Linked DNA regions of Homo sapiens: region 1 is linked to region 2. Evidence: promoter capture Hi-C in human tissues and cell types (Jung and others, 2019). All regions are on one chromosome and are shown on one strand. Each heading gives the region's core, a stretch centred on a gene start or on the middle of the fragment in contact. The rest is flanking DNA. Distances are from core to core; before and after follow the strand shown. Region 1 holds the start of LINC03061 (long intergenic non-protein coding RNA 3061). Region 2 holds the start of IRS2 (insulin receptor substrate 2).

Region 1 (4,785 bases), core at 485-2,984, 520 kb after region 2:
AGGGAAACAGGCCCTTGAAAAGAAGGTAATGTGGAGTGGGTAGCCTCCATATTGATTAAGAAGGGGACAGACTTACCCTCCACTGTGAGAGTTACCTAAAGCTCGGTGTCCATGGTGGTCTACAGGGCTTCTGAGGCGATCAGGCAGCGTCAGTCTTCAGCCACTAAGCCAAGAAGGAGTCAGTCAGAGAGCCTTGGGCCAGAGTTCCAGGGGCGCTGGGAGTGGCTGCCAGGTGAGTTGAACAGTCCGATTTCCAGTGGGGTCCCGCACAGATGGGACATGGCTTAGGAGGAATCCCTGGGCTGCAGGCATTCCTTGCCCTGGTGGTCAGATTTCTGGCACTTGCAGCAAGCTCCTGGGGGAGGAGGTTCTGGAGGAATGTCTGGCCACTGCGGTTCAGGCATTTGGAAGTTGTTGTGTGCTGGAGATGTGGCTGGGGTTTGTCTCACAGTGGAGGCAAGGAATTGCAACTTCCTTTTTTTTATTATTGTACACCTTGAAGGTGAGGTTAATTAAGTCCTGTTGTGGGGTTTGAGGGCCAGATTCTAATTTTTGGAGTTTTATTTAATGTCGGGAGCAGATTGGGTAATAAAATGTGTATTGAGAATAAGATGGCCTTTTGACCTTTTAGGGTCTAGGGCTGTAAAGCATCTCAGGGTTGCTGCCGAACGAGACATGAACTGGGCTGGGTTTTTATATTTGATGAAAAAGAGCCTAAACGCTTCTGATTTGGGATAAAGAAAAAGGAGCATTAACCTTGACTATGCCTTTGGCTCCAGCCACCTTTTTAAGAGTAAATTGCTGGGCAGGTGGGGGAGGGCTAGTCACAGAACGAAACTGTAAGCCAGACCAGGTGTGAGGAGGGGAGGCGATAAAAAGATTACAGGGTGGAGGAGCGGAGGCTGAGGAAGAATTGGGACCTAGCTTGGCCTGGCAAGGAGGGGAGAGGTCAGATGGGTCTGTAGAAAAGGAAGATTAGAAAGACTCAGTGACGCTTGGGGTTGGGACTGAGGGGACAGGCGGGAGGGAAAGAAGGAAGATTCAGAATGAGTTGCACTGGGCACAGAGACTAGGAAGGGACTGATGTGTAAAAGAATGCCTGGATGTCAGGCACCTCAGACCATTTGCCCATTTTATGACAAGAATTATTTAGATCTTGTAGGATGGAAAAATTGAAAGTGCCGTTTTCCGGCTATTTGGAACTACTGTAGAGTTTGTATTGGGGTCAAGAGGCATTGCAGAAGAAAATGAGACACTTAGATTTTAGGTCAGGTGAGAGTTGAAGAGGTTTTAAGTTCTTAAGAATACAGGCTAAGGGAGAAGAAGGAGGAATGGAAGGTGGAAGCTTGCCCATAGTGAAGGAGGCAAGCCCAGAGAAAAGAGTAGAGACACGGAGAAGGGGTGGGGGTTTCTTGCCCTCCAGAAAAGCAGAGAAAGGGTTGGGGCACAGAAATAAGGGATTGGGGCACAGAGATAAGAGGTCAGGGTGTGGAAATAAGGGATTGGGGGTTCTTGCCCCCTAGAAAAGTGGGAAGGGGGGTTGGGGCATGGAAATAAGGGATTGGGGCACAGAGATAAGAGGTTGGGGTGTGGAAATAAGGGATTGGGTCACAGAAATAAGAGGTCGGGGTGTGGAAATAAGGGATTGGGGGTTCTTGCCCCCTAGAAAAGCGGGACTTGCCACTAAGGGTGAAGGAGAAGGGGTTGAGGGGTACTTTCCCCTCCCCCAGAAAAGTGGGACTTGCCACTAAGGGTGAAGGAGAAGGGGTTGAGGGGTTCTTGCCCCTGCCCCAGAAAATCAGAGAAGGGGTAGAGACAAGAAGAGAAGGGGTTGGGGTACTTGCCCCTTCCCCAGAAAAGCAGGGAAGGGGTAGAGACACAGAGAGAAGGGGTTGGGGTACTTGCCCCTTCCCCAGAAAAGCAGAGAACGGGTAGAGACACAGAGAGAAGGGGTTGGGGTACTTTCCCCTTCCCCAGAAAAGCGGGACTTGCCGCTAAGGGTGAAGGACCAAGGCAGGCATCCCTGCATGGTCTGACACCCTTGAAACGTGGGTGAATAATCAGAGAGGTGTCCCTGCAATGATTAAACAGCAAGGGAAGGCTGCCTTCCCAGTCCGTGACCAGCGCTGGAGTTTTGGGTCCACAGATAAAACGTGTCTCCTTTGTCTCTACCAGAAAATGAAAGGAATTGAAACTAAGAGAAGGGAGAGATTGAAGTGTGGCGCCAAGATTGAAAGGAGAAAGAGGTTGAGGGATAGTGAGGGAGGTTGGAGAAGAGAGTAAAAAGAGGCGGCTTACTGGATTTAAAATTGGTGAGATGTTTCTTGGGCTGGTTGGTCTGAGGACCTAAGGTCGTAGGTGGATCTTTCTCATGGAGCAAAGAGCAGGAGGACGGGGGATTGATCTCCTAAGGGAGGTCCCCCGATCCGAGCCACGGCATCAAAGTTCACTCGAGTCCATGTGAAGAGACACCAAACAGGCTTTGTGTGAGCAACATGGCTGTTTATTTCACCTGGGGGCAGGCGGGCTGAGTCCGAAAAGAGAGTCAGCGAAGGGAGATGGGGTGGGGCCGTTTTATAGGATTTGGGAAGGTAATGGAAAATTACAGTCAAAGGGGGTTGTTCTCTGGTGGGCAGGGGCGGGGGTCACAAGGTGCTCAGTGGGGGAGCTGCTGAGCCAGGAGAAGGAAATTCACAGGGTTAATCACTCAGTTAAGGTGGGGCAAGAACAAATCACCATGGTGGAATGTCATCAGTTAAGGCGGGGCAGGGCCTTTTCAGTTCTTTTGTGATTCTTCAGTTACTTCAGGCCATCTGGGCGTATACGTGCAAGTCACAGGGGATGCGATGGCTTGGCTTGGGCTCAGAGGCCTGACAGTTTTTATAAGTGACCTAGTGGGGAGGCAGTATTTTACCTACATAGGGTGTGAAAAAACAGTTAAGACCAGGTGTACCATCAGCATAGAGTGCGAATCTCTGGCAGCCCCCATCCCAGCCTTTTATTATGGAGGCGGGTCCTTTGCCTGAGCTACTCCATGTTGCTTTCCTACTGTGCAGGTGCAAAAAAAAGAAAAAGAAAAAAAAAAGTGGGAGGCGGAGCCCTCATGGTGCACATGACTGGCCCCAGGTACCCCTTTCTAGTGCGGCAGCTCCCAGCTGCAAGCTTCCAGCTTCCTTATCTATGTTTGCAGCACAATCTTCCAGGCTGCTCTTTGTTAGGAGACACGTGTTTTCTTGGGCTGCTTTTTGTGAGAAAGGAAGTTCTACTGAGGAATTTTGACCTAGCTATCTGCCTAGCTATTCTCTTTTTACTTCCTCGCTCACTATGGGGTCCAGCCAAATCCAGTGGCATTGGGAATGGAAAGGAAGCAAGAATGGCAGATTATGTGGGAAGGTTTCCAATCAGCTAATTGGACTTAAGGGACAAGGGAGAAGTCAAAATAATGATGGAAATGATGGCCAAGGGAAGGGTCTTATTGTTAAAGAAAGCTCTGGGAAGGGAGATAATAGGTGTTTATAGCTATTTCCTGAGCAATCTCTGTTAGCAGGAAAATTCTCTGAAGCCATGTGAAGGGAGGCAGTTGCCAGTGAGGGGAGTTGGTGAGAAATGCCAAAGCCCCCTGGATTAGATGAAGAAATTGTATTCTCCACAAGTTATCTTTGAAAGATGACTTAGTGTACATGATTGGGAATTATATCTTGATAAGCCCCTTGGTTGGTTCTGGGAGTGATTCCTTCAAGGGGAACGCTTGGGAAATAATATATAATAGTTAAATATTCTGGTAACTTCATGGGCTTTATTCAGCTGAGTGGGCATATGAGTGTGGGGATATCAAGGGTTTAGGACAATAAGGTGATCAAAGCACTGACTCGGTGGTCTTTTAATTCCTCCATTCTGTTCTTCCCTGTTCAGTGCTTAGCTTCTCTTAATATACATTTCACAAATATATTTATTCTGAGGAACTAAATTATTAGCCTGACTAGGTGTTCAAATGTTTCCATATAGGCCTTTCTGTTCCTTTATCTGGGATTACAGGCATGAGCCACAACACACAGCTTAACCCCTGTGTGACTATCTAGTCCATAGAACTTCAGAAAGTACAACCAAATAGGGTGAAAGTTCAAGTCTTGCGTCCTCTATAATCCTATCTTGCACCCTGTCCCTCACCAAATATTTTGAAGCAAATCCCAGACATCATATCATTTCCTCCATAAATATTTCAATATACATCTCTGAAAGTTTAGACCTCTTTCAAAAGGTTAATTTCCATATGATTATCATACTTAAAAATTAAAAATTATTCCTTAGGCAGGGCACAGTGGCTCATGCCTGTAATCCCAGCACTTTGGGAGGCCAAGGCAGGTGGATCATGAGGTCAGGCATTTGAGACCAGCCTGGCCAACATAATGATACCCCACTCTACTAAAAATACAAAAAATTAGCCAGGTGTGGTGGTGGGTGCCTGTAATTCCCGTTACTAGGGAGGCTGAGGCAAGAGAATCGCTTGGACCAGGAAGGCAGAGGTTGCAGTGAGCTGAGATCTTGCCACTGCATGACAGTCTGGGCGACAGTGCAAGACTCTGTCTCAAAAAAAAAAAAAAAATTATTACTTAATACTATTTTTTTTTAAAGTTGAAGTCTTGCTTTGTTGCCCAAGTTAGAGTGCAGTGGGGGCACTCTTGGCTCACTGCAACCTCTGCTTCCCAGGTTCAAGTGATTCTCCTGTCTCAGCCTCCCAAGTAGATAGGATTATAGGTGTGCACCACACGGTTGGCTAATTTTTGT
Region 2 (4,869 bases), core at 871-3,370:
TGACTAGACATATTGCTAGGCAACATTTGTGAACGTAAGAAAAGGTAACAAGATCTAAAAAGAACGCCGAAGCATAATGTTCATAAAGGTGGCGCCCCCAACACACACAATCATACACACATACCTATACACACACAATCACACAATCTATTATATAAACAAACACGCACACATGCACACATAGGTGCACAGACTTAAAATGGCATTTCTTGAGGTATTTTTTTTTAAGGTATGATTTAAAAATGGAAGATCAACTTTAAACACACCTTTTTGAGGCACACTGGGTGATATTTGCCACAATGATTATTCTTCCCAAATTCAGGCTACTGATCAATAATCCTAACTGTATACATGCTAAAAATAAAAACGCTATAATCTTTGTACTAGTCAGGGCTCTCTTGGCACATAAAATTAGCCAACACAATCTTCAAGTCACATGTTACAAAAACATATTAAAATATATATCACTCTTTCAAAAATTACACTTATTTTCTCTTAGATTAAGATTTTATTACTTTTAAGATACTTCTATGAATTATAGAGGACATCCAAAAGTAAACATCCGGGACTTAAAAACAATAACCAATATTATAAGATAAATTATTGCTGTAAATTATTTCATGAAGGCACAATTAAAAAAAAAATAAAATAAACAGCCAAAGCCTGTTTTGTTGAGTTTTCTTCGTTGCGCAGGATCGGGAGCTTGCTGGGATCTGAACTCAGGAAGCCCTCACCTCACCCTGACTTGGTCATTGAGGAGACGTAATTGCAGGGGTGCTTATTTGCTATAGGCTTTGAAAGTCACAAAAGCCCAGTAGATACATGAATTCGAAGCAGTTCTCCAAGGGCATCTCCAACTTGGCAGTCACCGCCCGCACCGCGCACACAGGTAGTGGACGCCCGCCCACCTGCCCGTCTGCTGGGCGCAGGGCGCTCCTGGGGTGGGGAGGGCGCTCCTGTGGGGGGAAAAGGGGCGCTCCTGCCTCGGAGGGGGAAAGGACGCCCCTGTGGAAGGAAGGGGGGGCTCTTGAAGCGGTGTGGTGAGAGGACGCTTCCGAGGAAGGAAGGGGGTGCTCCTGCAGCGGTGGGGGGAGAGGACGCCCCTGCGGAAGGAAGGCGGCGCTCCTGCGGGGGCTGGAGAGACGCCCGCGCGGTCTCCCGGCTCAGGGACCGCTGGCTCGCGGGTCCGCCCTCTCCCCGGCGCTATGGAAACCGCACTTTCTCCGCCTGCCGTCCCCGATCTCTTTCTCCTATTACCTCCCAAACGCGATTTCAACTTCCCGACAAGCTGACAAGTGAATGGCGCAGAGGACGCCCCGTAAAGCGCCCGCGAGCGGGTGGGACACAGGCGCCCCCTCCGCGCCCCTCTGTCCTCCACGGAAGGGCGCGCGCCGCTCTCGATCTGGAGCGCGGTGCTCGCGAACCCGCGGCCGCGGGCCCTGGAACCTCCCCGCGTTTCGCGGCTGCGGGGGGACGGAGATGCGGCCGGGAGACGGGGACGGGAAACGGGGGACGGGGATGGGGCGCGCCCACCCCGAGCGCGGGAGCGGCCGCCCTCGCCCAAAATGGGGACCCCGCGCCCCGAGAGCACGGCCCGGCTCGCCGCCCATGCTTCCACTGCAAGGCCGCAGCCCCCGCCGCCGATCCCGATCCCCCGCCCCGCCCAGCCGCGGCCCCGCCCGGCGCCCCCTCCCCGGCGGAAGCTCAAGCCCAATTAATTGAGTCCGAGGCGGGAGGGAAGGGCCCTGCGCGCCGTGGCCCGCCCCGCCCCTCTTCCGCGCCCCTTTTCCCGCCCTGGGTGGCATCTCCTCCGCCGGCATCCACAACAAGCCGCTGATTAATGAGGCCGGGGCCGCCCCACCCCGCCCGGCCGGGCCGGGGCCTTCGCGGGAGGGGGAGGGGACGGCGGGAAACGCGGCCCGGGGAGAAAGGGGGGCGGGGCGGGGGCGCGCGGCCCGCCCCCGCGAGCGCCGCGCCGATTGGCCGAGCGCGCCGTCCGTCGGGGGGCGCGGCGCCAATGCGAGGCAGCGGGGCGGGGCGGCCGCGCTGTGTGTGCCTGCGTAACGCCGAGTCACATGTTGTTTTGCTCTTCTTAGTTCAGTCACTCGGTGCGCGATGTGTTACTCACTGTGCGGCGGGGACCGCGACGAGCCCGGGTCGCCGTTGGCAGCAGCAGCAGCAACACCAGCAGCAGCAGCAGCCCCGGCGGCGGCGCGGACCCCGAGCGCCCGGGCGCACCCCGGCTTCCCGGAGCGCGACGCGGCGGCAGCAGCCCCGGTGCGGCCGCGCGCGCCTTAGGCTCGGCCCCGCGGCTCGGGGACCCCGACTCCCGGCCCAGCGAGCGCGTCCCCCGGCGCCGCCCGAGAGCCCGAGGAGGCAGCGGCCGCAGGCAGCCGGGGAGGGGGGCGGCCACCGCCCGCGCCGGGCATCCTCAGGAGCCCCAGAGCGCGGAGGGCGCGGCGCCGCCGAGCGGTGCTGGCCCCCGCGGGCCTCCCCGGACCTTCCCCACCGCCTGGGCCCGAGGGACGCGTGATCGGGCGGGCGGCCGGGCGCAAGGGTGGGAGGGAGCCGCCCCCGCCCGCGCCCCCTCCGCCCCTCGCCCCAACCCCTGGGCGCCGGGCCCGGGCCGCGCGGCCTGAAGCGCCCGCGATGGCGAGCCCGCCGCGGCACGGGCCGCCCGGGCCGGCGAGCGGAGACGGCCCCAACCTCAACAACAACAACAACAACAACAACCACAGCGTGCGCAAGTGCGGCTACCTGCGCAAGCAGAAGCATGGCCACAAGCGCTTCTTCGTGCTGCGCGGACCCGGCGCGGGCGGCGACGAGGCGACGGCGGGCGGGGGGTCGGCGCCGCAACCGCCGCGGCTCGAGTACTACGAGAGCGAGAAAAAGTGGCGGAGCAAGGCAGGCGCGCCGAAACGGGTGATCGCTCTCGACTGCTGCCTGAACATCAACAAGCGCGCCGACGCCAAGCACAAGTACCTGATCGCCCTCTACACCAAGGACGAGTACTTCGCCGTGGCCGCCGAGAACGAGCAGGAGCAGGAGGGCTGGTACCGCGCGCTCACCGACCTGGTCAGCGAGGGCCGCGCGGCCGCCGGAGACGCGCCCCCCGCCGCCGCGCCCGCCGCGTCCTGCAGCGCCTCCCTGCCCGGCGCCCTGGGCGGCTCTGCCGGCGCCGCCGGGGCCGAGGACAGCTACGGGCTGGTGGCTCCCGCCACGGCCGCCTACCGTGAGGTGTGGCAGGTGAACCTGAAGCCCAAGGGTCTGGGCCAGAGCAAGAACCTGACGGGGGTGTACCGTCTGTGCCTGTCTGCGCGCACCATCGGCTTCGTGAAGCTCAACTGCGAGCAGCCGTCGGTGACGCTGCAGCTCATGAACATCCGCCGCTGCGGCCACTCGGACAGCTTCTTCTTCATCGAGGTGGGCCGCTCGGCCGTCACAGGCCCCGGCGAGCTGTGGATGCAGGCGGACGACTCGGTGGTGGCGCAGAACATCCACGAGACCATCCTGGAGGCCATGAAGGCGCTCAAGGAGCTCTTCGAGTTCCGGCCGCGCAGTAAGAGCCAATCGTCGGGGTCGTCGGCCACGCACCCCATCAGCGTCCCCGGCGCGCGCCGCCACCACCACCTGGTCAACCTGCCCCCCAGCCAGACGGGCCTGGTGCGCCGCTCGCGCACCGACAGCCTGGCCGCCACCCCGCCGGCGGCCAAGTGCAGCTCGTGCCGGGTGCGCACCGCCAGCGAGGGCGACGGCGGCGCGGCGGCGGGAGCGGCGGCCGCGGGCGCCAGGCCGGTGTCGGTGGCTGGGAGCCCCCTGAGCCCCGGGCCGGTGCGCGCGCCCCTGAGCCGCTCGCACACCCTGAGCGGCGGCTGCGGCGGCCGCGGGAGCAAGGTGGCGCTGCTGCCGGCAGGGGGCGCGCTGCAACACAGCCGCTCCATGTCCATGCCCGTGGCGCACTCGCCGCCCGCCGCCACCAGCCCCGGCTCCCTGTCGTCCAGCAGCGGCCACGGCTCGGGCTCCTACCCGCCGCCGCCCGGCCCGCACCCGCCTCTGCCGCATCCGCTGCACCACGGCCCCGGCCAGCGGCCCTCCAGCGGCAGCGCCTCCGCCTCGGGCTCCCCCAGCGACCCCGGCTTCATGTCCCTGGACGAGTACGGCTCCAGCCCAGGCGACCTGCGCGCCTTCTGCAGCCACCGAAGCAACACGCCCGAGTCCATCGCGGAGACGCCCCCGGCCCGAGACGGCGGCGGCGGCGGTGAGTTCTACGGGTACATGACCATGGACAGGCCCCTGAGCCACTGTGGCCGCTCCTACCGCCGGGTCTCGGGGGACGCGGCCCAGGACCTGGACCGAGGGCTGCGCAAGAGGACCTACTCCCTGACCACGCCAGCCCGGCAGCGGCCGGTGCCCCAGCCCTCCTCTGCCTCGCTGGATGAATACACCCTGATGCGGGCCACCTTCTCGGGCAGCGCGGGCCGCCTCTGCCCGTCCTGCCCCGCGTCCTCTCCCAAGGTGGCCTACCACCCCTACCCAGAGGACTACGGAGACATCGAGATCGGCTCCCACAGGAGCTCCAGCAGCAACCTGGGGGCAGACGACGGCTACATGCCCATGACGCCCGGCGCGGCCCTCGCGGGCAGTGGGAGCGGCAGCTGCAGGAGCGACGACTACATGCCCATGAGCCCCGCCAGCGTGTCCGCCCCCAAGCAGATCTTGCAGCCCAGGGCCGCCGCCGCCGCCGCCGCCGCCGTGCCTTCTGCGGGGCCTGCGGGGCCAGCACCCACCTCTGCGGCGGGCAGGACATTCCCGGCGAGCGGGGGCGGCTACAAGGCCAGCTCGCCCGCCGAGAGCTCCCCCGAGGACAGT

The links. Contacts are between HindIII fragments. The study calls those that stand out against the background at their distance.
Region 1: a contact is called between a fragment that was not itself captured here and the fragment with the promoter of IRS2 in region 2, in 1 of the 25 tissues and cell types used here (mesenchymal stem cells).

The regions. Positions count from the first base shown.
Region 1 is chr13:109,263,181-109,267,965 of GRCh38, reverse strand. It overlaps LINC03061 (long intergenic non-protein coding RNA 3061), which reads right to left and starts at 2,479. Exons shown (of 2, transcript NR_185883.1): 1 at 2,299-2,479; 2 at 1-355. RefSeq lists an enhancer at 1-695. The HindIII fragment of the contact is 6,977 bases long and covers 1-4,785 here.
Region 2 is chr13:109,783,834-109,788,702 of GRCh38, reverse strand. IRS2 (insulin receptor substrate 2) reads left to right here and starts at 2,120. Exons shown (of 2, transcript NM_003749.3): 1 at 2,120-4,869. The coding sequence starts at 2,650. It overlaps LOC124903211 (WAS/WASL-interacting protein family member 1-like), which reads right to left and starts at 1,619. Exons shown (of 2, transcript XM_047430835.1): 1 at 1,258-1,619; 2 at 1-1,103. The coding sequence starts at 1,610. The coding sequence ends at 866. RefSeq lists silencers at 1,723-1,892, 1,913-2,142 and an enhancer at 2,984-3,613. The HindIII fragment of the contact is 26,611 bases long and covers 1-4,869 here.